7 separate regions of the Homo sapiens genome follow, and regions 1, 2, 3, 4, 6 and 7 are each linked to region 5. The links are contacts of gene promoters, found by promoter capture Hi-C in blood cells and fetal thymus (Javierre and others, 2016). All regions are on one chromosome and are shown on one strand. The core of a region is centred on a gene start or on the middle of the fragment in contact, and the rest is flanking DNA. Distances in the headings are between cores, read along the strand shown.

Region 1 (3,630 bases), core at 1,105-3,604, 350 kb before region 5:
CAGTGAGCAGAGATTGAGCCACTTTACTCCAGCCGCGGCTGCAGAGCGAGACTGTCAAAAAAAACAAACAAACAAAAACCTGCCTGTGCTCTAGCAATCAAATGCAAAGTCCTGGGTGACTGTAGTACTTTCCCTGATTCAGTTTCAAATATCTTCATTCTAGAAGTCAAGCAGGACCTCAAAGAGAAAAAATCTGGCTTTGTGCTGCAGGACACAACAATACCACACTGATGTACCACACACTTTATGAATGTGCTCATAAAGGCGCTGAATGAAGGTTTCCTGTCCCAACATGACTCCATCCTTCACTCTGCTGATCTAAGCATTATTTGCTGTTTCAAAGCCACATACATTAGGCTGAGATTCTCCCTTGACTCCCAGAGCCATGGATGCTGACCCTAATCTTAATGTGGTAAAGATCTGGAAGTCCTTCCATATTGCTAGTTGCATCATTTCTATTTAAACAGGCAATGGGAGGCCAGGTGTGGTGTCTCACGCCTGTAATCCCAGCACTTTGGGAGGCTGCAGATCTCTTGAGTCCAAGAGTTCAAGACCAGCCTGGGCAACATGGCAAGACCTCATCTCTGCAGAAAATTAGCTGAACGTGGTGGTGTGCACCTGTAGTCCCAGCTACTCAGGAGGTGCAGGCAGGAGGATCACCTGTGCCTGGGAAAGTTGAGGCTGCAGTGAGCCATGCTCATGCTACTGCACTCCAGCCTGGGTGATACAGCAAGACCCTGTCTCAATAAATAAATAAATAAACAAACAAACAAACAAACAGGTAATGGAAGCAACGAAGCCTGACAGTCAATGCATGTGGAATGTGTTCAGAATTTTAAGGGTTTCTTTCTCTTTTTTTTTTTTGTTTTTTGTGTTTTGAGACAGAGTCTTGCTCTGTTGCCCAGACGGGAATGCAGTGGTGTGATCTCAGCTCACTGCAACCTCCACCTCCCATGTTCAAGCAATTCTCCTGCCTCACCTTCCCAAGTAGCTGGGATTACAGGCATGTGCCACCATGCCTGGCTAATTTTTGTATTATTAGTAGAGATATTATTTTACATTATTAGTATTATTTCACCATGTTGGCCTGGCTGGTCTTGAACTCCTGACCTCAACTGATACACCCACCTCGGCCTCCTAAAGTGCTGGGATTACAGGCGTGAGCACCGCGCCTGGCCAAGGGTTTCTATTGACAAAGAAGTGAAACTCATTGTGCAAGTCGCCTAGCAAGTGGATCGTGATGGCTTTGTTTATACATCATTGAGGAAGAAAGTAAAGAACTTCTTGGCCTGGCCAGGTATGGTGGCTCATGCCAGTAATCCCAGCACTTTGAGGGACTGAAGCCGAGGATCCCTTGATCATGGCTCAAGGTGACAGTGAGCTACTTCGCCACTGCACTCCAGCCTGTGTGACAGAGTAAGACCCAGTCTCTAAAATATAAGGAAATAATCATAAAAATAAAGAAGTTTTTGAGAGCCACAGAGAAACACTAATAAAAAATCTTGAGGAACTGATAAAAATCACCCTCAGGAGAAAAAGGAAAAGACCAAACTAAAGCTTCATAAATTTACTGAAGTGTTTCATGCTGCAAAATGTCTGAATAATTTTTTTTTTGCATTATTCCTGATATATTACAAGTCCTCAACAGGGCTTTATTTTTTTTCTTTTCTTTTCTTTTCTTTTTTTTTTTTGAGACAGAGTCTTGCTCTGTGGCCCAGGCTGGAGTTCAGTGGCACAATCTCGGCTCACTGCAACCTCTGCCTCCCAGGGTCAAGCAATTCTCCTGCCTCAGCCTCCCTCGTAGCCAGGACTACAGGCACACGCCGCCATGCCTGGCTAATTTTTTGTATATTTAAAGTAGAGATGGGGTTTCACCGTGATGCCCAGGCTGGTCTTGGACTCCTGAGCTCAAACAATCCACCCACTTTCGCCTCCCAAAGTGCTAGAACTACAGGCGTGAGCACCGCGCCTGGCTATTTTCTTTTTTCTTTTCTTTTCTTTTCTTTTTTTTTTTTAAAAAAACAACTTTAGACTTTAGATATATGTGGGGAAAAGCAAAAGAGATCAGATTGTTACTGTGTCTGTGTAGAAAGAAGTAGACATAGGAGACTCCATTTTGTTCTGTACTAAGAAAAATTCTTCTGCCTTGAGATTCTGTTAATCTATAACCTTACCCCCAACCCCGTGCTCTCTGAAACATGTGCTGTGTCAACTCAGAGTTAAATGGATTAAGGGCGGTGCAAGATGTGCTTTGTTAAACAGATGCTTGAAGGCAGCATGCTCCTTAAGAGTCATCACCACTCCCTAATCTCAAGTACCCAGGGACACAAACACTGCGGAAGTCCGCAGGGACCTCTGCCTAGGAAAGCCAGGTATTGTCCAAGGTTTCTCCCCATATGATAGTCTGAAATATGGCCTCGTGGGAAGGGAAAGACCTGACCATCCCCCATCCCGACACCCGTAAAGGTTCTGTGCTGAGGAGGATTAGTAAAAGAGGAAGGAATGCCTCTTGCAGTTGAGACAAGAGGAAGGCATCTGTCACCTGCCTGTCCCTGGGCAATGGAATGTCTTGGTATAAAACCCGATTGTATGCTCCATCTACTGAGATAGGGAAAAACCGCCTTAGGGCTGGAGGTGGGACCTGCGGGCAGCAATACTGCTTTGTAAAGCATTGAGATGTTTATGTGTATGCATATCTAAAAGCACAGCACTTAATCCTTTACATTGTCTATGATGCAAAGACCTTTGTTCACGTGTTTGTCTGCTGACCCTCTCCCCACAATTGTCTTGTGACCCTGACACATCCCCCTCTTCGAGAAACACCCACAAATGATTAATAAATACTAAGGGAACTCAGAGGCTGGCAGGATCCTCCATATGCTGAACGCTGCTTCCCCGGGTCCCCTTATTTCTTTCTCTATACTTTGTGTCTTTTTCTTTCCCAAGTCTCTCGTCCCACCTTACGAGAAACACCCACAGGTGTGGAGGGGCAACCCACCCCTACAGATATATTTAGGGCTGTTTGCATATGTTTATAGAGTATTTAGTTTACTCTAAAAGATGACAAGACAGCTCCCCTCAGTGAGACCCTGGCCTAAATATATTTGCTTTATTTATATAGCAAGAGGATAACATTAAACGTGGAAGCTTTCAATTTGTGGCACTGAATGATGATCTACACAGGGCATCCTTCAAAGGCTACAATTAAGGATCCACTGGCCAGGCATGCTGGCTCACGCCTGTAATCCCAGCACTTTGGGAGGCCAAGGAGGGCAAATCACGAGGTCAGGAGTTCGAGACCAGCCTGACCAATATGGTGAAACCCTGACTCTACTAAGAATACAAAAATTAGCCAGGTGTGGTGGCGCACGCTATAATCCCAGCTACTCAGGAGGCTGGGCAGGAAAATCACTTGAACCCGGGAGGCAGAGGTTGCAGTGAGCCGAGATCCTGTCACTGCACTCCAGCCTGGGCGACAGATCAAGACTCCATCTCAAAAAAAAAAAAAAAGGATCCACCTAACTTTTCAGCAGTACAAGCCCGATTGAGATCTTCTGGTCCGTTTGTTTGCCATTCATGTTTTATGCCTTGAAATTTCTTTTTGATTGCATCCTTGGAGCTTGTATAGAT
Region 2 (3,705 bases), core at 190-2,689, 260 kb before region 5:
TGACACGTAAACACACAGAGGCCAAGAAACTAAGCAACCCACCTGTCAACCAAAAGGCACATGCTGGCTAAAGCTTAGGCAGCTTGAGGAAAAAGAGAAAAAAAACACATAGAAAAGGCCATGAAATATAGCAAAGTGATGCTGATACCATTCGCAGGTCATCCTTGATCCATAGTGGATCGTACTGTGCTTAATAAACTTTTGCTGCTTTGCTATTTGTGTGTGTCATGTCCAATTTTTTGTTTGCGGCACCAACAACTTGGGACTTCACAACATCAGCCAGTAACAAAGTAAACTTGCACACCCCTAACTGGATGCTCTGAGATACACACCACGAAATGCTATGCTCAGGCCAGGAGGGGGTTCTTTGCTGGGATGAGTGAGGAGGGGATCAGAAAAGGATGCATGGAGAAGGTGGCAAATTGGCGGGGAGACCATGGAGCCAGGCCAGGACGTGGAAATGCTTGAAGGCCGTGCTGAGATGCTGGGACTGGATCCTGGGCACTAGAGAGCCAGCAGAGGATTTTCTATAGAGAAGAAGATTATTAGATTTGCCACGTGGACCCCTGCAGCTGCTGAGTGAAAGAACTGGAGGAGGCGAGGCACCAAAGGCAGAACTGCAACCATCCTGGTCAGCAAAGGGCCTGAGCCAAGTGGCTGTAGAAATGTGTGGGACAGTTCTAAGGTGACGTTCCCAAGAATTGGGGCCTGATACAGCGTGAGAGGTATGGGGAAAAGAAAGAGAGATCAGATTGTTACTGTGTCTATGTAGAAAAAGGAAGACATAAGAAACTCCATTTTGATCTGTACTAAGAAAAATTGTTCTGCTTTGAGATGCTGTTAATCTGTAACTTTTGTCCCAACCCTGTGCTCACAAAAACATGTCCTGTATTGAATCAAGGTTTAATGGATCTAGGGCTGCGCAAGATGCACTTTTAAAAAGTTCTTGCCTCACACGTGTAATCCCAGCATTTTGGGAGGCCAAGGCGGGCGGATCATGAGGTCAGGAGATCGAGACCATCCTGGTGAACACGGTGAAACCCCATCTCTACTAAAAAAATACAAAAAAATTAGCCGGGCGTGGTGGCGGGCGCCTGTAGTCCCAGCTACTCGGGAGGCTGAGGCAGGAGAATGGCGTGAACCCGGGAGGCAGAGGTGGCAGTGAGCCGAGATCGCGCCACTGCACTCCAGCCTGGGCGACAGAGCAAGACTCTGTCTCAAAAAAAAAAAAAAAGAAAAGTTCTTGCAGGCAGTGTGCTTGGTGAAAGTCATCACCATTCTCCGTTCTCTATTAACCAGAGACACAATACACTGTGGAAGGCCGCAGGAACCCCTGCCCGAGAAAGCCTAGGTATTGTCCAGGTTTCCCCCCACTGAGACAGCCTGAGATATGGCCTCATGGGAAGGGAAAGACCTTACAGCCCCCCAGCCCGACACCCGTAAAGGGTCTGTGCTGAGGAGGATTAGTGAAGGAGGAAGGCCTCTATTCGGTTGAGATAAGAGGAAGGCATCTGTCTCCTGCTCGTCCCTGGGAATGGAATGACCCGGTGTAAAACCGATCATACATTCTATTTTGAGAGAGGAGAAAACTGCCTTATGTCTGGAGGCGAGACATCATGGCGGCAATACTGCTCTGTTACTCTTTACTACACTGAGATGTTTGTGTAAAGTTAAACATAAATCTAGCACATCCAGGCACAGCACCTTTCCTTAAACTTATTTATGACACAGAGTCTTTGCTCATATGTTTTTCTGCTGACCCTCTCCTCACCTTCACCCTATAGCCCCACCACATTCCCCTCGCGGAGATAGTAAAGATAGTGATCAATAAATACTGAGGGAACTCAGAGACCAGCACCGGTGCAGGTCCTCACTTGCTGAGCGCCGGTCCCCTGGGCCCACTTTTATTCCTCTATACTTTCTCTGTGTCTTATTTCTTTTCTCAGTCTCTTGTCTCCACCTTGCGAGAAATACCCACAGGTGTGGAGGGGCAGGCCCCCTTCAGAGAGGTCAGGGGAGAAAGAGCAGAGGGCCATTTCTCTGTCCAATATCAGACCAACCCTACAAGGCCTCTGAGTGGGCCAAGCAGAAGGCGTTGGTCCAGGGTTTGGATGAAGGAGAGTTTCCTGTGCGCTTGGCAGACAGGCGAGACTGGGGGTGGTGGGGGCAGGGCAGAGAGGCTCTGAATGGACCATGGGGAATGGACAGCTGTAGATTAGAGGAGCGATTCCCAAAGTCCTGGATCAGTAGCAGCGGCAACATGACCTGGGAACTTGTTAGAAATGCAGATCCTCGGCCCCACCCCAGACCTGCTGAATCAGAAACTGGGGGTGGGTCTAGTCATCTGGGTTTTCACAAATCTCCAGGTAACTGATCACGCTCAAGTTTGAAAACCATAAGTTAGATGGAGAGGAAAGGGGAGAGGTGTCCCCATTCTGAGGTGTGCAAAGGTGGTAGGGATGTGCGAGGAGGCTTCGGAGGAAAGAGAGGGCTCAGGGAGGTGATGGTGGAAGAAGGTATGGGAAAAGCCTTTGAGGCTTGACTGTAAATCTTTTTATTTTTAGTTTAGATCCACTCTGTCACCCAGGCCAGAGTGCAGTGGTTCAATCATAGGTCATTGCAGCCTGGAACTCCTGGGCTCAAGTGATCCTTTCATGACAACACCCAGCTAATTTGTGCAGGCAGTGATTGCAAATATTGACAGGCAGGTCGAAGAGCTGGAGCTTTGTCCTGGAGGTGAGGGGACCCACTGCTGATTTTTTGGTAAAGATGTGGCATGGTCTGTGTGGAGCTTCGGGAAGCTTGATGTGGTAACTGGGGACCAGATGACATGGGACTGGAGCAGTGATTATAGGAAAGGCACCAAGATAGCACCTCAAAGGAAGGCTGGAGCAGGGCTCAAGTGTCTTTGAATCCAGGCCTAGGATATAAAGTGGGCTCAGAGAGGTGACTGCCTGGGGAAGGTGTCACCATGGACCTGGCCCCTGCTGGTGAGACAAGATCTTGCCTCCAGACTTACTCTGTCTTCCAAGCTTGGTCCTTCTTTCCCCCAGTGGCATCTTTGCCGTTGAAGCTTGGTGACGATCTGCCTACTCTGAAGTCCCACAGCACCCCGTTGACATGCTCCTGGGTGTGTTCCACCTTCTACTTTGTGTATAGTGATTTGGTTTCTCAACTCTCCTCCTCTAGCTTGAGCCCCTTGAGGACAGAGATGACAGTCTAGCCAGCTGTGTGGCCACCACAAGCCTGGCAGCAGCTGAGACATAGAGAGAGGACTTGGTATGGCTTTGGCTAACTTAAGCCAAATTGAATTGTATGGAGGAGCGAAAGTCACTGATTTCTTCTTTCTCTATTCACCATATTAATTCTGTTTCTAAAACGGGTCACTGAAATGTATGCACACATCCAGCCCAGCCTGGATGAAGCCCAGTCGCCCCAATCCAAGCTGTTCATCCCCACGGGGCCCTGCCAGCCACTCTCCATCCTGTCTGTGGCTCTCCACCAAGGGGCTGACAGCCACACATGGCTCATAGGCTCTCTTGCCCTCCAGCACCAGTCGGGGCTGGCCAGTGGGAAGTGCCTTTCAGAGATGAGATGGAAGGGTGGGGGAAAGAAGCTGGGATATTTTTCCTACTCTATCCCTGCCCTGGGCATATTTTCTGTCAATAGCTGTGTGTTCATCCTCACCTGCAGCCCTGCCCCTCC
Region 3 (3,867 bases), core at 494-2,993, 310 kb after region 5:
TTTGAGCTCCATAGCAGGGGCTGAATAAACAGGAGGTATTAAGAGATCAAAAGGATTTACAAACACATGAAATACCGTGGAGTGGGAACGAACAGGCAGACATGTTTTCTCTAAGTCCAGATCCCAGTTCTTGAACCTGGCGGTCCTGGCAGAGGCCAAGGGAATTGGATTAGCTGCAAGTGAGCTACTAAAGAGAAAGTATTTCCCACGCAGAGAAAGAGAACATGCTCCTAATGGGGCTTGTGGTTAATATTAAATATTCATGCTAGGGCTCAGCAGAGGAAGATTTTAGGATCACGGGTTTTGTGGGCTTTAAATCTTGCGTGGATGGCTACGGATCTGCAGTGCCTAGCTTTAGCCCTCTCTAGTCACGGGAAAAGGGAAGCGATCCCCTGGCAGCTGTGTTCGGGGACTCAGCAGCAGCCGGCAAGCTACAGGACAGCTCATCTGGAAGCAGGCCCCATGGAAGTCACGGAACCACTGCAGGGCTCGGGCTGGTTTTTACAAGGGCTATTCAGTGCTTCCCTTTGGAGAAGCTACTCATCGCTTACACCCCAAGCTTGTTAGCCAAGGCTGCTGTTGATAAATGACAAAGTGTTCCCCTTTATAAAACAAGCGAATGTTAGCTTGCTGTCTGACTCATGGAAAAAGTTATCCATCACAGAGCCTTCTCTAGGATTACGGTATTAATTTGCTTAAGGGTTGTTTATTCTGCTTTTTTCAGGCTGACATTACAGGCCCAGAAAAAAAAAAAAAAAAGAAAGGCTGGTGTAGCAGCAGTAGCATATGCCAGCGTGTCCTTTACACAAGAAATGGAACAGTGTTTTTCACTGTTCACCAGGGCTCTCAGTTTAGCCCAGGGAGAGGACACAGCAGGCTCCCGTCCCTACACCAGCTCTGTCCTGCAAACAGCACTCACCACGCCCGTTTGTGTGAAGGAGAACAAAATCCGGTAGGGCCTCTGGCCTGCAATAAAAGTTTATTATATCCAAATAACTCCACCAGGTGTTCAAAGGAGCCCTACCTCTGCCCCGACTGGTTTCGTCTTGGTTCCCGCCCTCCCGAGTTCACGGGAATAAGTGCCACAATGGAATTCCATTTGCCACACGCTGTACTTCTTTGCCCCAGAGGGGAGTGGGTGTGTAAGCTGTGCTGTGGTTGTGTAAGCTGTGCTGGTTTCAGGAGGGAGAAAAATGAAGCCCAGAGCAATAAAATGAACTGCCCCAGGTCACAAGCCAGGATGGGGATGCCAGCTTACTAAGGCCAAGTGTCGCGTGTCCTGAAAATCACCAGGCACCTCATCATGGATAGGGGGCTGGCCGAGGAAGGGGGGGCATTCACGGCCTCTGGCTGGAGCCCCCCTAGATGCCCTCATTCAGCAGCCATGGTTCTGGAGGGACACCAGGGAGCTGGGAAAGGCTGCTGGCCTAGGACCAAGAAAATGAAGTTCCCCAACAAGTTTGCAGCCTGGGATTAGGGATCTTGCTGACGGGCTGAATCTCCAGGCCTGGATTGGAGAGAAGGCCCATATAAGGCTGTCAGCTGCTCTGGACTTACCATAGACTGTTCTGAATGTTGGAAAGGTTTTCACTTGCTTTTCTGCCTGGTTATATACTCTTTCTCTACTTGGTAAGCTGTGGCCCCACTGGAGAAAAGACACCCCTGGGCTGTTCAGGTTTCCTGAAAAGTCAGCTGCATGGTCAGGCTGGCCTGTGGGTTGCTCTGCAGACAGTTGGTGGCCCAGTGCAAGGGGCGGTCACCCCATGACTATTCCTTGGAAAAGTAGCCAGGGTGTGGCTGGCACTCCAAGCTCATCTGCTAGGAGAAGGGCTCTGGGCCAGTACAGAAGGCTGGTCTCACAGCCTCGTGGGGAAGGGGACACAGAGCGACGCCTCCTTGGCCCTTTGCCCATGGACGACAATTATTATTTCCTAAAGCGTTCAGTGACGTTCAGGGCATAGCTCAGACCTAAGCAGTGCTCAGAGTGCTGTGCTGCTGTTTTTTTTTTTTTTTTTTTTTTTGAGATGGAGTCCCGCTCTGTCTCCCAGGCTGGAGACAGAGCCTCAGTGGTGTGATCTCAGCTCTCTGCAACCTCTGCCTCCCAGGTTCAAGAGATTCTTGTGCCTCAGCCTCCCGAGTAGCTGGGATTATAGGTGCACGCCACTACGCCCAGCTAATTTTTGTATTTTTAGTAGAAGTGGGGTTTTGCCATGTTGGCCAGGCTGGTGTCGAACTCCTGACCTCGGGTGATCTGCCTGCCTCGGCCTCCCAAAGTGCTAGAGGCTGAGGCGGACGGATCACCTGAGATCAGGGCTGATCACTGTGCCCAGACACAGTGCTGCTGTTCTAACTTTACCGTGCATCATCCCCCTTGCCGGCGCTTCTGCAGGCAGAACGAAGTCTTCAAAGCTCCGCTCTCTTCCCCGAATGGGGTGTCGCTGCAAAGGATCTGTATTTCCCTGGCAGAGCTAAGTGGACAGTGGCCCTTAGACCCCAACTAGGGGATCTGTGTCTCTTTGGGGTTGTGCCTTCAAATCACCCTCCTGGTCACTTCAGGTAGGACCACCGGCCACCAGCAGGGCCCTGCAATGACCTGCAGGATCTGAATCCTGTGAGGTTCCCAGAGGTGAGCCCCAGCTCCTCTAATGGCACTCACCATTCTCCTGCCACCCTGCAGCTTTCCCACCTGTCAGCTGCTGGCTGGGCCACCGACGCAGGGGTTTCTCTCCCTGACTGCAATTTGGGTGAAGTAAAAGGGCCAAGACAGCGCCACCCCATCCCTGCCAATGGGGCACATTCAGCCAGTACAGACCTCTTCCATTCCTACAGAGGGAGACCCCACAACCTGGCAATGACAACCCGAGAAGCAGCTCTTTTAGGCCTGGGTTCAAAACCTGGCCCTGCCTCTTGAGGGAATATAAGCTTAGACAAGTTATTTCAGCTCTCTAGGCCTCGGTTTCTGCACTTGTGAGATGAGAATCACTCCACACTCCTCGTAGAGCTAAGGGGATTAAATTATATAATACACACAAGACAATGAATGACACACAAAGAAGGGGGCTCAAAAATGTTAGTGTCTTCCAGCCGGGCGAGGTGGCTCACGCCTGTCATCCCATCACTTCGGGAAGCCAAGACGGGAGGATCACCTGAGGTCGGGAGTTGGAGACGAGCCTGACCAACATGGAGAAACCCCGTCTGTACTAAAAATACAAAATCAGCTGGGCATGGTGGCACATGCCTGTAATCCCAGCTACTCAGGAGGCTGAGGCAGGAGAATCGCTTGAACCTGGGAGGCAGAGGTTGCGGTGAGCCGAGATTGTGTCATTGCACTCCAGCCTGGGCAACAAGATTGAAACTTCGTCTCAAAAAAAAAATAAAAAAAATAAAAAATAAAAATGTTAGTGTCTTCCTCCCAGTTCCATCCTCTTACCCATGAGATTCTTAACTCCCACATCTAAAAATATAAAGAATCAGCCATAGAGGCTTTGGGTAACAGAAAAGAAAAAGTGGGTTGTTAGAAGCAGCCAGGACAAGGGAGGACTGAGTCTCTCTTTGGAGACACACGCGCCGGCCACAGGGCTTTTGCTTAGGAAAGCAGGCCTGACTGTGCCTGCTCCTGCCGGCAGACCTGCTCCCCCAGCACAGGGCTCCCTTCTGGAACACGGCGTGGAGTGTGGAGAGTCTTCCCCAGCACCCGCACCCGGCTCCTCCCTCCTGCTCTGCAGGACAGCATTCTAAGCCTGTCACAGACTCCCAAAAAATGGTCTGTTGCCAAAACAAGTCAGGGCGCTATAGAAACCTGTTCCCCAAAAACTCTGTGTGTATGTGTAGTTTTTTTTCTAAACATACATTGTGCTTTCTCTCACT
Region 4 (4,064 bases), core at 776-3,275, 310 kb before region 5:
AATATCAGGGTGAGCAGGTTACGTGCCCAGATGTCTGTCACTGCCACTGATCTATACAAGTTCCCGCTCTGTGCCAGGCTCTAGGTCAGGCCCCCAGCCTTAGAGAAATAAGTCTCTGCCCTGGAGTGTCTTAGACTGATGTGGGAAAGAGATGCATGCATGGCCAGAGGTGTGTTGCTTGTAAGTGTTTAACAAGCACCTCTCCAGTGTTGGTGAGGAAGGTGGGAAGGTGATTTCCACGATACGAATACTTGCACTTTGACCAGTTTCCAGCTGCCAATGTGAGGTCATTGGAAACAGATTTGGGAAGAGATGCACAGAGCTGGCTCTCCCAAGCCGAGAGGAGCCTGCTTGCACCCACCGCTGCAGCACGGCTAGCTTTTTAACTGGGTGCCTGGGGCATCACCATGACCCTGAACTGTACCTCCTGAAATCTGTGGTACTATGCCCCTTGAGCTCTAACCACATTTTAGACTTAGGCTGGGGGTCCAGAGTGAACAGACTTGATTTGCCATCACTTGCATTGCTATCTTTTTTTAAAAAGTTAAAAGCAATTTTTTTTATATTAAGAAGAGATCTCACTATGTTGCCCAGGCTGGTCTCAAACTCCTGAGCTCAAGTGATCCTTTCACGTCAGTCTCCCAAAGGGCTGGGATTACAGGCGTGAACCACTGCGCCCGGCCTGCTTTGTTATCTTGGGCAAGTTGCTTCACCTCCCTGAGTCTGTTTACTCAAGGTGTAAAATGAGGCTTATCATAGCACCTACCTTACAGAGATATCATGAAAATTCAATGAAATCAGGTATTTATGCAGCTTAGCCCAGTATCTGGCTCATAAAAAGTGTTCACTATTAACATATTTAATCCAATCTAAGATGCATCACTAAGAAAGAAAAGATGCTGTCAATTCTAATTGAAACAATGATCCATTGCTGAATGCACCTTGATTTCAGAGATGTCAAAATGTGAAGAAATGTGCATCTTAGAATTGACAAAATACAGCATAGAAAACTAGCAGCTAGAGTCTACAAGGGCTTTATAATTTACAAAGTACTATCGCTTCTTCATCTTCAAGGCCCTGGGAGGGGGCTGTGGTCACTCTTGTTCTACGGATGAGAATAGGAACCGTGTCCGCATCTTTCGCATCCAATATGGTGCCTGGCTCAGAGCAGGTCCCGCTAAAATGTTGGTCGAATGAATTAATTAATGGGTTTCCTCACTCCAAGGACGTGCTGTACTAATGCTCGGAGCAACGCGCTATTGCGGGTCGGGGAGCTCCCTTCCCCTCCCCCCATGCCCTGCCTTCCGGGGGACAGGGGGTCTTACCTCTGCCAGAGTAACGTCAGCACAGGCTTTCCTGGCATCCTGCAGGGAAAGCAGACATCAGGGGAGCAAGGGCGAGGTGGGGGTGGCAGGTGCATGGGCCTTCAGGGCAGGTTGGTCTTGGGGCTCTGGGGCTTGGGGGTCTCAAATATGCGAACCAAGTTTAGAAAGTCCCTGGTCACTTCTAGTCACTCAAGAGCAAACCCAGCCCCCTCCCCCTGGGCCACGCTCCTCATGTCCCCAGCTGTTTTCTGGGGCCCCAGGGGTAGGGCTCTGGAGTTACTGCAATCTGCTTCTTGAGCTGCTCCGCTTCCTGACGCAGTTGCTCCATCTCCCCCATGGCTGACAGGTCGAGGGGTCACTCTGGCTCCTGCCAGGAACATGGGGTCGGTGTTGAGGAACCCCCCACCAGGCTGTGCTTCTGCCCTTCGTGCCCACACCAGACTCCAAGACACAGGGAAACGACTGGGTGGCTGCACCCTCTCCCCAGCTAGGCCCTCCAAGTTTGAGGTCCTTTGCGTCCAGCCCCAGCCTGCCTGAGCCCTGCCTGCGCCCCAGCCCAGGAGAGCAGAGCCCAGGCCAGCTCCCTCTTACTTGGGCTCTGGCTGGACCTCGGCCGGGTTTCCAGCTCCGGTTCCTGGGAGCCTCCTTACTCCCTCAGCTGCGACGCCCGCGCCCGCCCGTCACCTGCCCAGGCTCTGCTGCCAGAGGAGCTGGCCTGGCCTGGCCTGGCCCCGACCGGCGGGGGGTTGGGGGGGCCTGACAGGGAAGGGTAGAGCCAACCACAACGTCAGGCAAATGAAATCAGCTGGCAGGGGTGGGGGGAAGGGGTGGGGGGAGGGAGGGAGGTGTACGGATTCCAGAGAGACTTGGGCCCAGCCGGGAGGAGGGTTGGGGGCAGGAGTGTGGGGCCATAGAGAGGGGCAGCCCCCACCACAAGCCCTGAGAGAGGAGGGGGTGAAGGGGTGCTTCCCTGGTCAGTCTCTGCAGGCAGAGATAAGAGCATCAGGCCCCACAGGATTAGAGCAAAGCTGTGAGGATTAAGGGTTGGGGTTTGGGAGGGGTGCAAAGGAGCAGACAACTACAGCTCCAGTGGCCCCCCTGGTCCCGGCCCCCATCCATGGTGATGATCTTGGCAGTCAGGGCCACTTAGCAACCAGGCCAGGAGGTGGGATATAAGGGTGATAGATGGCCCCATTGTCAGTACCTCAAACTGTGCTCCTCAGCTCAGGGTGGTGGGGAAGAGGGTTTGGTGAGTATGGGAGGGTACAGGCAGGAGCTGAGATTAGAAAGGACTGATCTGGATAATCCTTCTTCTCGACAAACCCCAACCAGCTGCCTCTGGGTCTGATCCTGTTGGGGGAGAAAGGTACAGGGGACCCACAGAGAAGGATGGACAGGTCTGCCCCTATTGTGGGCGGGCAACGGATTTCAAGTGGAGGGAAGGCCCGCACGCTGCTCCCAGGCTGGGGTCTGGCCCCCTCCTTGCCCTCTCGAGGCTGTGAAAGCAGGGGTCAGAGAGAAAGCAGGCGGCCCTAAGTCTCAGCAAAGCTCAGAGAGGGAAGACAGGGCTTACACTTGGAGGCCTAAGGAGCAGCTGCCAGGGGCTTGGGTCATTTGCATGAGGGGAGCAGGTGGCTGAGATTTCCCTGACAAATCACAGGCTCCAGGCGCCCCGCCTCTGGGAGGCCCAAAGACACCTGTCTCCTCCCAGGCCAGCCAGAGCCACCCCCACCTCCAGCCATCACAGAATCTGTGATACACTTGACTGGCCCCTGGCTGAGAGATCTTCACGACCTTTATTGCACAGACTGGGAGAGAGGAGCAGGGTTATACCTCCCAACCCCACCATCCTCTTCATTTAAAGCATCAGCCTCCTCCCCTGCCATTTCTGTTCAGGGAGGCACAGTGTTCCCCATCTGTCCAGGGCTGCAGGTCCGGCAGCGGGGCCCCGTCCCAGCTCCCCAGGCCTGGTGAGCTCCAGGCTAGCCTGTGCACTGTCCTCTGAGTCCAGGCCCTTGTAGGTCCCCAAGATGGTGGGGGTGCAGGGACAGAGAGCTTGCTGTTCTGCTCCTGATGTCACACAGGGGCTTCCTGTGTGTCCTGGCATCAAGATGGCCTTCCACAAGTCAAGTGGCCACATCCTCAAGGAGCTGGCTCAGCCACTCACAGCTCCTCCCGAACCCGAGGTGCCCTTCCAGTCTTGTCTTGGACCCTCTGGTGCCTGCGGCTAGGGGGCTCTGGGGAAGGGTCTTTGCTGGGCATTTCTTCCTCTTCCTCTTCCTCCTCCTCCTGTGACTCCTGCAGCAGTTCTTTGGCTTCTATCCACTCCTGGGGTTGGGGAGGAGAGTGTGGCCCATTCCCTGCACCCACCTTCCCTGGGTCAGCTCAGCCCCTGACCCTCACCGACTGTGAGCCTTCTCGGGGGCTCCTTGCCCACCCTTCACGCACCAGGAGAACCACATCCCTTCCTACCCCGCTCCTTACCTGCTCCCTGTGCTCAGGTGCCCACGTGTGCCACAGTGCCAGGGCACAGCGCCGTCCCCGAGTCACGGCCCACACCCCATGGGGATTCTCGACACCGGAGCTGAAGGCCACAAGGCGCCCACAGCGAGGACGCACCCGAGCCTGGAGGGATGAGGGCAGGTTCAGCTCCAGGGATTGGCTCTCTCAGAGAACTTGGCCCTCACTCCCTAGAGCAGGATGGGGACAGGGGCACAGAGAGGATCAGCTCTCTCGCTA
Region 5 (3,578 bases), core at 847-3,346:
CTCACCATGTAGCACTCACCATGTAGTTGAGGTCAATGAAGGGGTCATTGATGGCAACAATATCCACTTTACCAGAGTTAAAAGCAGCCCTGGTGACCAGGCGCCCAATACGACCAAATCTAAGAGACAAGAGGCAAGAAGGCATGAGGAGGGGAGGCTCCTCCAGAATATGTGAGCAGCCCTAGGCCACCTCCCCATTAAGAGGGCGAATGCAGCATCTCCTTACCCCCAGGAGGGCCCAAGAGGTTGAATTTTATCTCCCTTGAGCTTCCCTGCCAGGCTGGCCTGGCTTAAGGCATGGCTGCAACTGAAGGCTCCAGGGCTGCCCAACACCCCCAGTCATACGAAGCCCTTCCAGGAGAAGCGGCCATGTGGGGCACTGCCACCCACAGTCTGGGCACAAGCTTTGTACATGGTATTCACCACCCCACTATGCCACCCCAGGAATGCTTGCTGCTGCCTAGCTCAGCTGCACCCTTTAGGGAGAAAACGCTTGTACACTCAGCATCATCAAACTCAAAGGGCAGGAGTAAAGGTCAGAAATTAACTGGACAGGGCAAGCCCACCCCTTCTCTAAGTCCCTCCTACAAAAGGGACAGAGACTGGGGCGGGTGGGAAGAGGGGAAGCTGTATTTTAACCCCCTAGTCCCAGGGCTTTGATTTGCCAAGTTGCCTGTCCTTCCTAGCTCTTTTCCAGAAATCAGGAGTGGGAGCACAGGTAAGTGCATGTGTGTGGGGAGAAGGGATGGGAGAGAGCCCCAGCCCAGGCCCCCAGCTACAGAAAGGTCAGCAGCTATATTTAACCTCAGACCAGGGTGCGGTGGGAGATCTGGTTTCCGGAAGACGGAATGGGGAGAAGGGCAGGTTCCCCGAGGCGCCCAGACACCCAATCCTCCCGGTGACATTTACAGCCTGGCCTTTGGGGTCGGGTCAACGCTAGGCTGGCAGGGGAAGGGCGGGGCCGTGAGGTGAGCCGGCGCTGCAGGAAGGGGCCACCACCAGAGGGGCCATTTTGCGGTGGAAATGTCCTTTTCCAACTACCCATGACTCAGCTTCTCCCGGCTTGGCACCATGCCACAGCCACCACACCTCTGCGGGGAGGGGACACAAGAGGACCTCCATAAACCCACTTCTTTGATTTACCAGAGAATAATCTAGGAAAAGCATCACCCGGAGGAGAAATCGGGCCAGCTAGCCTCGCTCCACCTGACTTCCCCGCCACACGCGACTCCACCCATCGAGGCAGGAGCGCAGGGTTAGTCACCGGCAGGCTTTCCTAACGGCTGCCCATTCATTTCCTTCCCGGTTGCAACATGGCGGCCGCTCTACCGCAGGCGCAGCATCCGGACAGGGATGCACCCGCTGCGCACTAGCATCCCGGGGCCTGCGGTGCCGGAGGCCGTGGGGGAGGGGCTCCTCTGCGACACGTGACCCCGCAGAGCGCGAAAGGAAAGAAAGCGTCCCCCACCTAGGGGTCCGGGTCGGGATCTCGGGCGGGAGTAGGGACCTCCTGTTTCTGGGGACTAGGGGAAGGAGGCTCCGGGCAGATGGCGCCGCAAGGGCGGAGCTGCACAGGGCGCCACAGCCTGGGTGCGGGGCTCCGCCAGGTCCGAGCGCTGACCTTGAGCTCTCCTTGCGGGGAACAGCTACCCTGCCCCCATACGACTGCAAAGACCCGGAGCCCGCAAGGCTCGTAGACGCGGTTCGGGGGCGGTCGCAGCCCAGGGCCCCCCAGCCACCCGCGAACTCACCCGTTGACTCCGACCTTCACCTTCCCCATGGTGTCTGAGCGATGTGGCTCGGCTGCGCGGAGGGAGAGAACAGTGAGCGCCTAGTGGCCCCGGCCGACACACACGCCTCCCCTCCCCTCCCCCACCAGGCCTCCATGCCCAGCCCGCGCCGCATCACGTCCTCCGCCCGCCCCTGCAATGCGGAGGCCGCCCGGGCCCACCCCGCAGCGGCGCGAACACATCCGGCCTGCGCCCGCCCCTGCCGCCTTCAGGCCGTCCCTAGCCTCCCGGGTTTCTCTCCGCCCGTCTTCACCTGGCGACGCAAAAGAAGATGCGGCTGACTGTCGAACAGGAGGAGCAGAGAGCGAAGCGGGAGGCTGCGGGCTCAATTTATAGAAACCGGGGGCGCGGCGGCAGGCGGTGACTCGGACCCCGCCTCCCGCCAGGCTCAGCCAGTCCCAGCCCAAGGTCTTGAGGCCTGAGCTACGTGCGCCCGTAAAACCGCTAGTAGCCGGGCCCTACTTTCTCCCCGCTTTTTTTTTTCCGCAGCCGCCTGGTTCAACTGGGCACGCACCGAGCGTGTGGGCCCCGACGTAGGGGGGAAGGGACTGAGATTGGCCCGATGGGAGGTGATCGGTGCTGGTTCCCAGGACTGGACTGTGGGCAGCAGGACACTAGGGAGTCAAGGACGGGGACCCTTACACGCTTGGATGAAACAGGAGGACTTTGGGAACGACTGAGATGGGGAATTGGAGCCGGAGCCCAGCACCGCTCGCGGCTGCACGCGGCCTGCCCCCTCCCCTTTCTTTCTTTCAAAGGCTGAGAGGCGGGAAAGTTGGGGAACTTCTCCTCGAGGCTCTGCGGTAGTGACACCGGACTGCTCAGGCAAAGGCCTAGGAGGGGCCCATGGGCCTCGGGCGGGGGCCCGTGGTTCCTTCCCAGCCCCCACTTCCCCCTCCCCATCTCCTGGCTCCTGGCATCTCTGGGACCGAGGCCTGGGCTGGGCACTGGGCACTGGGCACTGGGGGCCTGGAGAGGAAGGAGGCTCGGGAGGCGGCTTGAGGGGGAGGGGGAGGTTTCTGCACGGAAGGTCACGATGTCCTGCAGCCCTGTAGCCTGGACCTGATAATTAGGGCAGACAATCCCGGCCCTGTGTGCACCAGCGGCTCTCTCCGGGCTGGGGCCCCAGGCGGAGGACAGGATGGCTGGTGGGGGCCCAGAGGCCTCCCACAAAGGCACTCCTGGAAACCTGTGGGCTGTGCTGCCTAGGGAGAGAGACAGTGTGCCTTTCATTCCATCCAGCCTGGGGCGAAGAGCGGGACGTGAGGGCGGAAGTCCCTCCCCGCCCTGGGACGTGCAGGCGAGCCAGGAGCCAGGGACTCCCTTTCACTGGCTGCGCCGGGGGATATTGAGGGCAGGGTGAGTCAAGAAGAGGGAAAAAGTGGGAAAAGAGGTCTTGGGCACACGGTGGGAACAGGTCCCCTGCCCCCTCCCACAGGGGATCCATTCTTCTGGTAGGAGGGCAGAGGGCCAGGTTTGTGAGTGTGGGATGGGAGGGTGCTGAACACTTGTAAGGAAGGGGGTGGGGTGGGGTGGCCTTGGCCCATCAGCAGGTGCATGGGAGGGGGATCCCGGGCCTCTTTGCTGGCCCAGCATAACCTGACACCAGCCCCCTGCCCTTCTAGCTAAAAGCCGGTTGCTAAGTTTAGCCTGCCTGGTGATAATCTTTGCTTAAAAAGCACCCACAGGACTCCAGTCCCTGACCCTGCCTTTCTGGGATTGCCTTTCCTGCTGGGACCCAGAGCCAGGCTGTGTCCTCGTCTGGCTGCCACTGGCATGGTTGGTGCG
Region 6 (3,668 bases), core at 199-2,698, 340 kb after region 5:
CAGTGATGCACAGCTGTGTGTTGGGGAACAAGGACAGCCTCTAGAAGCTGGAGAAGGCGAAGAAACGAATTCTCCCCTGCAGCTGCCAGAGGGATCCAACACAGCCCTGCCCACCCATTTTAGATTTCAGACCTCTAGAATTGTGAAATAGTAAATATGTGTTACTTTAAGCCACTAAATTTGTGGTTGTTACCGAAGCAATAGGAAATATAGTAATCTCAATGTAAACATCAAGATCAGAATTCATAATCTCCAAGGGCTTTCTAGGCTCGCAGCTGACTTTCTCCTCAGCCCTCCCTGTCTCTAATCAGTCAGCACCAACACCTCCCATCACCTGGGGCTCCTCCTTCCCCCAGCCTCACAGCTGCTTAGTGAATGTGATTCCTGTTTCTTAGCTGTTCTTACGTCATTGCTGGGAGGCACCAGGGCTAAGGCGGGTTGTAGTGATTGAGTGGCAGAGCACAGATCAGACCTCAGAGCTTCTGGTTTCAGTCCAGGGTTGGATCCTGATCTTTTGTTCCCCCTGATGCCCTGCCATCCGCAAGGGGGCTGCATCCTGGAAGCTCATCTGCAGCCCAAACGGCTGTTCTACCCTTGCCCTGCCTCGCTGCTGTTCACCTGCCCAGGATGGACACAACATTGGACCCAGAGAGTCTTGCTGCGTGCGTCCTTGGGGGTGGGCTGCCCTCCTCTCACCCATCACTTCTTTTCCTTGCATTAAGCACACACACACTCAACCTGGAAACTGCCTATGTCCAGTGTGGATTTTATGAAGGTTTCACGGATAGGTGGATGAGGGGTTCCCTCTCATATGCCAGAGAGAACCATTCTAAGAATCCCTCTGGATAGCTCTTCTCAAACGTCCAATCTGTGGCAGCCACCCCTATCATCTGCCCCCCAGCCCAGCCTCAGCCAGCCCCCTGCCCTGTGGATGTCCTCTGCATATGTCTGTGTGGAGCAATTTAGCTCTAAACTTGGCATTTTCCGTTTGTGTCCCCACCTCCCCTCACCCTGCTCAGCAAAACAAATCATGGCTCTCAGGGTCTGTCCTCCTTAGTATATGGGGGTTGGGGGCAGGCGGGGAGCAATTCTAAACAAGCAATATTTAATATCATCCTTTCATCAGACTCCTGAAGCTCAGCTTTACTCTTTCCTGCTCAAAGATCTCCCAACTCCCCTTACCCCTGTTCTACTTCCAAACAATGCTCCCATAGCATTTACCTTCTCACAGAGTGGAATGTTTCCTTGGTATGTGCATTGCTATTTACCTGTCTCCTCCAGCTAGAATGCAAAATCCGCATGGCTGTTCTGTTCTCTATGTATCCCAAGGGCTTTGAACAGTGCCTGACATACAGTAGGTGCACAATATTTATTGAATGTATGGAAAGCCGATGTCTCAATTGTAAGATCATCATACAGGCCCTCTGCTCTCTCGCCTTAACCTCTGTTTGCAAATCTGTTCACTCTTTTGGAATACCACATGCATCCCCAGCTCTATGCCTGGGTCCCCACCTCTTCTTTCCGAAGCCCAAGCTCTTGGCACTTCCTCCTTTCTGCCCTTCAAGCAGCCTGCACCATCTCTGAGGCCAGCCCAGCCCCTGCCTTCCCCAGCACCCTCAGTCATCTTAGTCTGCTCTGATCCTCTTTCTCAGGACACTCCTGTAGCAACTTCTTTCTGAATCATCCACTAGACTCTTACAAGATTTGTCCTGGGTGATAATTTCAGGTTTCATGCATCTGTTTAAAAGAGTTGGCTGGGCGGCCGGGCGCGGTGGCTCACGCCTATCATCTCAGCACTGTGGGAGGCTGAGGCGGGCGGATCACGAGGTCAGGAGATCGAGATCATCCTGGCTAACACAGTGAAACCCTGTCTCTACTAAAAATACAAAAAATTAGCCAGGCGTGGTGGCGGGCGCCTGTAGTCCCAGCTACTAGGGAGGCTGAGGCAGGAGAATGGCGTGAACCCGGGAGGCAGAGCTTGCAGTGAGCTGAGATCACACCGCTGCACTCCAGCCTGGGCGACAGAGCGAGACTCCGTCTCAGAAAAAAAAAAAAAAAAAAGATTAGCTGAGCGTGGTGGCAGGTGCCTGTAATCCCAGCTACTCAGGAGGCTGAGGCAGGAGAATCGCCTGAACCCAGGAAGCGGAGGTTGCAGTGAGCTGAGACTGCGCCACTGCACTCCAGCCTGGTGAGAGTGAGACTCCGTCTAAAAAAAAAAAGATTAGCTGGGCATGATGGCGGGTGTGGGGAAAAGAGAGATCAGATTGTTACTGTGTCTATGTAGAAAGAAGTAGACATAGGAGACTCCATTTTGTTCTGTACTAAGAAAAATTCTTCTGCCTTGAGATGCTGTTAATCTCAATGTCAAACTCAGGGTTAAATGGATTAAGGGCGGTGCAAGATGTGCTTTGTTAAACAGATGCTTGAAGGCAGCATGCTCCTTAAGAGTCATCACCACTCCCTAATCTCAAGTACCCAGGGACACAAACACTGCGGAAGGCCACAGGGACCTCTGCCTAGGAAAGCCAGGTGTTGTCCAAGGTTTCTCCCCATGTGACAGTCTGAAATATGGCCTCGTGGGAAGGGAAAGACCTGACTGTCCCCCAGCCCGACACCCGTAAAGGGTCTGTGCTGAGGAGGATTAGTAAAAGAGGAAGGAACACCTTTCTGCAGTTGAGACAAGAGGAAGGTGGGCAATGGAATGTCTCGGTGTAAAACCCGATTGTATATTCCATCTACTGAGATAGGGGAAAACCGCCTTAGGGCTGGAGGTGGGACATGCGGGCAGCAATACTGCTCTGTAAGGCATTGAGATGTTTATGTGTATGCATATCTAAAGCACAGCACTTAATTCTTTACCTTGTTCATGATGCAGAGACCTTTGTTCACGTGTTTATCTGCTGACCTTCTCTCCACTATTATCCTATGACCCTGACACATCCCCCTCTCCGAGAAACACCCAAGAATGATCAATAAATACTAAGGGAACTCAGAGGCTGGCGGGATCCTCCGTATGCTGAACGCTGGTCCCCTTGAGAGGTGACAGCGTGCTGGCAGTCCTCACAGCCCTCGCTCACTCTGGGGGCCTCCTCTGCCTGGGCTCCCACTTTGGCGGCATTTGAGGAGCCCTTCAGCCCGCCGCTGCACTATGGGAGCCCCTTTCTGGGCTGGCCAAGGCCGGAGCCGGCTCCTTCAGCTTGCAGGGAGGTGTGGAGGGAGAGGCGCGAGCGGGAACCGGGGCTGTGAGCGGCGCTTGCGGGCCAGCTGGAGTTCCAGGTGGGCGTGGGCTTGGCGGGCCCCGCACTCAGAGCAGCCGGCCCGCCCTGCGGGCCCCGGGCAATGAGGGGCTTAGCACCCGGGCCGGCGGCTGCGGAGGGTGTACTGGGTCTCCCAGCAGTGCTGGCCCACCCGCGCTGCGCTCGATTTCTTACTGGGCCTTAGCTGCCTTCTCGCGGCGCAGGGCTCGGGACCTGCAGCCCACCATGCCTGAGCCTCCCACCCACTCCGTGGGCTCCTGTGCGGCCGAGCCTCCCCGATGAGCGCCGCCCCCTGCTCCACGGTGCCAAGTCCCATCAACCACCCAAGGGCTGAGGAGTGTGGGCGCAGGGCGCGGCACTGGCAGGTAGCTCCACCTGCAGCGCTGGTGCGGGATCCACTGGGTGAAGCCA
Region 7 (3,871 bases), core at 463-2,962, 290 kb before region 5:
TGACCAGTCAGGAATCTTCTGGATGCCCCAGGGATTTGGGGGTGGGGCTCAGCCCCCTGGACAGGCTGCAAGGGAAAGATGAGATGTGGGAGGGAGAGGGCAAAGGTAGGGCCTGGGCTGGTCTCCAATCAGCCTCCTGTGCCCCCTTTCTTGAAACTATAGGCATGACTGATTACTAAGGCCCTGAGGGTCATTCAGAACATTCCTTTGCCTTAACTCTGACAGCTAAACACCCCACACAGATGAGAGCCGCACTCTTCCAGACCTCTAGGGAAGAAGGTATTCCCACCTCCCTGTCTCCTTTAGCCCTTCCTCCTCCCGCTGGAACTCCCAGGTTCCTTCTTAGAACATCCCCTGCTCAGCACTACTCCACCCCTATCTTCAAGTCCCTAAATGTCTCTTCAGAACTACTGATGGGAGACACAAGACTGGTTTCCTCTTGAGGGTTCACAGTGAACTGGGATATGGCATCACAGCCTTCCTCCCCTACCTGCCGGTCTCCTGGATGCAGGGGTCTTGGTGCTTAGCCCCTACTTCCCCAAACCTGGGTGATCACCCTCCAGCTACCCATATCTGGGAAAATGGGAGAAAGGAGTCTGGGACCGAAGGGGGTGCTAGGGAACCTGAAGGCGGGGAAACCGCTGACATCAGAAGCATCCAGAAATGGAAAGAGGGGGAACTAGGGAGAAGGAGGAGAGTTTGAGCAGAAGAGAAAGAGGGGGCAAAGTGGTAGTATCTGAAAATAGCAGGAAAAGCTCAAACCCCCTGGAGAGGAGGCTTTGGAGGGAGGAGGGACTGGAGGAGGGAGGGAGGGAGGGAGCAGGGAATAGGAGGCTGAGAAGAAAAGCCAAATGTTCAATAAGGTGCTGACTCCCCGTGGGGAGACCTTGACTCTTCCTCCCTGGCCCAGAGCCTCAGTTTCCCTCTCATGGGAGGAAGGATGGTCCCAGTTTTAGTGCGTGATGCTGAGCTTCAGTGAGCCCTGGGAAGGGGGGTAAGGGAATCGGGTGAAACCCTGAACAGAGTGGGGCTGTAAGGAAGCACATAATGGCTTTAGGGTAAGTGGGGTAAAAATGGGGCACAGCAGTGAAAGGGTCTGTTTCCCATGGAAGCAGCTCAGACCCTTGCTTTCCCCAAGAGGTCCTGGTCCACCCCCACCCTTGGCTTCCCTCCGGAGCCCAGTACACCCTAGTTGCCATGGCAATGGCCAGCCAGAGGGAGGTGGAGGGACTTGGCCAAGAGCAGCCCCCAGTGTCCTCTCCTACAGCCCTGGACCCCTTCCCACCCACCTCCACCCAGGCCCAGCTGGTGGGCTCAGGATGAAAGAGATAGGGAGTCAGAGAGGGAAGGAGGCAGGAAAGATGTGAAGGACAGAGAGAGGGAGGTGAAGGACAGGGAGAGATCAGAGGAAGGTGGGAAGGGGGATCTGGGAGGTTCCCTGGCCGACGGGGTCCCTCGCCCTTTGGGGTGAAGGGGTAAGGTCAGGCGGCTCCTCCCTCCTGTCCCCCTCCAGGTTCTCCAGGGCAGAAACAGCAGGTGGCTGGGGAGGAGGGGCCGGCCTAGGGGAGAGGAGGCAGCTTGAGGGGGAAAGGGAGGCAACACAGGGGACGGGGCAGGCAGGGGTCGTCTTACCTCTCTCCGGCTGCGCCCAGCACTGCCATGGAGACCGCACTCCCGACGCGGCTCTCTCGGGCTCCCGCTGCCTGCCGGCTCCAGCTCGCCCGCCCTCCTCCCTCCTTCCCTCTCTCCCTCCCTCCCTTCCCCCGGGCCTCCCTCCTCCCCCTCAGTCCCGGCCTCCCAGGCTCAGCCCACGGCTCACTCGGTCTCTGCCCCTCTCACTCTCCAGGACCCTCTCTCCCGGGGTCGTCCTGCCAGTGAGCCCAGGCCAGAGGGAAGGCAGGACAGCTTTGTGGGGGGCGGGGGGGGGCGGGAAACGAGTGCAGGGTGGGGAACTGGACGGTGGTGACTCGGGGAGGAGGGGCAAGGAAGGCGCTGAGAGGGAGGGCGGTGAGGAGGATGGCTGGGAACCGGCTTCATTGGTGAAATGGTTCATGTCCTGCCCCCACCCCTTCCCGTTTTCAACACGAACACAAGCTCCAAGAGGCAGCTGGTGTTGTTGGGGACTGAGGAGCTAGCTGTTCGGGGAGGAGGAAGCGTGTGTCACTGTGTGTATCTGTGTGAGGGCTGGGCCTTGGGTTTGGGAGTGAGGGGGCTTGTGGTGCACACTGGGGCTGCTTGTGGAGTTGGGGGTGGTTGTGCACAAGCTAAAAGGATGTGGGCGCATGCATGCACACAGACACACACACTCTGCCTCCTCCTCCTGGAACACAAACACATATGTTGGGGATACAATTTGCACACACATGTTACAGTTTCTCATAGTCCTTTTTCTCTGCCACACACATACACCAGGAGAGCTCACACAACCCTGAGTCTCTCCCCCACGGTATATCACACACATGTAATTACAGAGTCTCAGCCTCACACACACACAGGCCCACACAGAGCCCTGTGGGTTGTGGAGGTGGGTAGCCAGCCTCCACAGAATTTTTCCCTCTCCAGGGAAACTTCATCTCCTTCCTGGGGCACGCCCAGCAACCTCTCCTCTGGGTCCGACCCCAAAGACCAGAAGATTCCTGGTCCCCAGAGAAGGGGTCTCTCTCTCTCTCTCTCTCTCACACACACACACACACACACACACACACACACACACACACGAAGAGCATCTTTATAGTAAGTTTATTGTATTTTTATTTCAGCTCAGGGGAGCAGGGGTGGAGAGTGGGCACAAATGCAAAGTAAGCAAATGGGGAGCCCCAGCAGCAATAGGGGGGTCTTCCTGGAAGAGGCAGGCTTTAAAGACAGGAGGAGAAGGAAATAGGGAAAAGGAGTTGGGACTGAGGGAAGTGGTGAGGAAGGGTAGGAAGAGAGGGGATCCTGAGAGAAGTGGATCAAGAAGATTTGTAACCCTGATTTCCCTGTGTCCTGAATGGTCTGGAGGAGGGTAAGGGAGGGTGTGGGGCAGGCGCAGAGCCTGGCACAATCACCTTTGAGGTCCCTTAGAGGGTTCCCTCTCAGGCTAGCTACCCCCTCTCCCAGCAAAGCTCGCTTCCAGGAGGTTCTGCACAGGGTCAGTGACTGGTCACTGGGCATTCTCTCCTGCAGTGCCTGTGCTCCCAGCTTGCGCTCTGATTAGAAGAGCCAAAGGCTTTGTCCTCTGGTAACAGATTCTGCCACCAGCGGGGGATGAAGGAGGGATTTTAGACAGGGAGGCCTTCATCCCTGCTCGTAAATTCTCTGAGATGGACCCTTCCCATGGGTGCTGTGCTTCTGTGAACCCAAAAGTACACATTGAGTACCCACCACTAGCCACTGGTGAGAGCCGTGTGGCATTTGTCCCTGCATTCAAGAGGCAGCAGTGGAACTTGGGACAAGGGACCTGGGTTAGTCCCGACTCCAGCACTTGCTAGTCCGGCACTTGGTAATCAATCATCTAGCCTCTCTGAGCTCTGGTTCTGGTCTATAAACTGGAGATGATCATCTTAGTTCTGTCACTGCCAGCCTTGTAGGATTTTTCTAAGTCTCAAATAGACAGAGGATGTGAGACATCCCTTGAGGCCGTGTACATGGGGCTGTGTCCAGAGGGGCTGTTTGTGCAAGGTCAGGATGTGAGTCTGTGGTCCCACCCACATAGGGTGAGAAGCGGGCAGCATGGGGCAGGAGGTACTGGCTGCCAGAAACCTCTGGATCTGCATCCATCCTTGACTGGCTTGGCTGTGTGATTTTGTGCAAGTTCCTGCCCTCTGTGGTCCCAGGGTCCTGTCTTGTAAAAGAACAGTCCCATGCTCCATGCTTCCAGACACCCAGCCTC

What was found. Contacts are between HindIII fragments. The CHiCAGO score rates a contact against its expected background, and 5 or more counts as called.
Region 1: a fragment that was not itself captured here is called in contact with the fragment with the promoter of GAPDH in region 5 in 3 of 17 cell types (activated CD4 T cells, non-activated CD4 T cells and naive CD4 T cells); the score reaches 8.3 in activated CD4 T cells.
Region 2: a contact is called between a fragment that was not itself captured here and the fragment with the promoter of GAPDH in region 5, in 11 of 17 cell types (monocytes, non-activated CD4 T cells, activated CD4 T cells and 8 more). The highest score is 13.6, in monocytes.
Region 3: a fragment that was not itself captured here is called in contact with the fragment with the promoter of GAPDH in region 5 in 1 of 17 cell types (total CD8 T cells); the score reaches 5.3 in total CD8 T cells.
Region 4: a contact is called between the fragment with the promoter of GNB3 here and the fragment with the promoter of GAPDH in region 5, in 10 of 17 cell types (activated CD4 T cells, naive CD4 T cells, erythroblasts and 7 more). The highest score is 11.1, in activated CD4 T cells.
Region 6: a fragment that was not itself captured here is called in contact with the fragment with the promoter of GAPDH in region 5 in 4 of 17 cell types (fetal thymus, total B cells, total CD4 T cells and 1 more); the score reaches 5.6 in fetal thymus.
Region 7: a contact is called between the fragment with the promoter of GPR162 here and the fragment with the promoter of GAPDH in region 5, in 8 of 17 cell types (naive CD4 T cells, total CD4 T cells, non-activated CD4 T cells and 5 more). The highest score is 8.7, in naive CD4 T cells.

The regions. Positions count from the first base shown.
Region 1 is chr12:6,885,235-6,888,864 of GRCh38, reverse strand. The region is part of intron 1 of LOC105369632 (a long non-coding RNA gene); the gene reads left to right. It also overlaps the pseudogene DSTNP2. Among named protein-coding and RNA genes, the nearest start is that of SPSB2, 14 kb to the right of the region's middle. RefSeq lists an enhancer at 2,164-2,711. The HindIII fragment of the contact is 1,590 bases long and covers 1,560-3,149 here.
Region 2 is chr12:6,795,702-6,799,406 of GRCh38, reverse strand. All of the region lies in intron 1 of CD4 (CD4 molecule), which reads right to left. Among named protein-coding and RNA genes, the nearest start is that of CD4, 8.0 kb to the right of the region's middle. The HindIII fragment of the contact is 2,728 bases long and covers 76-2,803 here.
Region 3 is chr12:6,226,713-6,230,579 of GRCh38, reverse strand. The region is part of intron 2 of CD9 (CD9 molecule); the gene reads right to left. The region is part of intron 4 of LOC105369625 (a long non-coding RNA gene); the gene reads left to right. Among named protein-coding and RNA genes, the nearest start is that of CD9, 28 kb to the right of the region's middle. The HindIII fragment of the contact is 2,363 bases long and covers 562-2,924 here.
Region 4 is chr12:6,838,886-6,842,949 of GRCh38, reverse strand. It overlaps GNB3 (G protein subunit beta 3), which reads right to left and starts at 2,025. Exons shown (of 10, transcript NM_002075.4): 1 at 1,917-2,025; 2 at 1,606-1,692; 3 at 1,326-1,364. The coding sequence starts at 1,662. P3H3 (prolyl 3-hydroxylase 3) reads right to left here. Exons shown (of 15, transcript NM_014262.5): 14 at 3,810-3,950; 15 at 3,103-3,653. The coding sequence ends at 3,489. The HindIII fragment of the contact is 12,557 bases long and covers 1-4,064 here.
Region 5 is chr12:6,533,035-6,536,612 of GRCh38, reverse strand. GAPDH (glyceraldehyde-3-phosphate dehydrogenase) reads right to left here and starts at 2,096. Exons shown (of 9, transcript NM_002046.7): 1 at 2,044-2,096; 2 at 1,752-1,803; 3 at 20-119. The coding sequence starts at 1,780. GAPDH-DT (GAPDH divergent transcript) reads left to right here and starts at 2,206. Exons shown (of 2, transcript XR_002957397.2): 1 at 2,206-3,149; 2 at 3,470-3,578. RefSeq lists silencers at 1,805-1,944, 2,665-2,914 and enhancers at 1,543-2,316, 2,317-3,090, 3,091-3,578. The HindIII fragment of the contact is 4,237 bases long and covers 407-3,578 here.
Region 6 is chr12:6,190,801-6,194,468 of GRCh38, reverse strand. No RefSeq gene overlaps it. Among named protein-coding and RNA genes, the nearest start is that of CD9, 7.8 kb to the left of the region's middle. RefSeq lists a silencer at 324-373 and enhancers at 2,701-3,386, 3,387-3,668. The HindIII fragment of the contact is 5,273 bases long and covers 1-3,668 here.
Region 7 is chr12:6,819,662-6,823,532 of GRCh38, reverse strand. GPR162 (G protein-coupled receptor 162) reads right to left here and starts at 1,712. Exons shown (of 5, transcript NM_019858.2): 1 at 1,633-1,712; 2 at 1-65. It overlaps CD4 (CD4 molecule), which reads right to left. Exons shown (of 10, transcript NM_000616.5): 10 at 2,734-3,871. RefSeq lists enhancers at 1,729-2,701, 3,672-3,871. The HindIII fragment of the contact is 21,739 bases long and covers 1-3,871 here.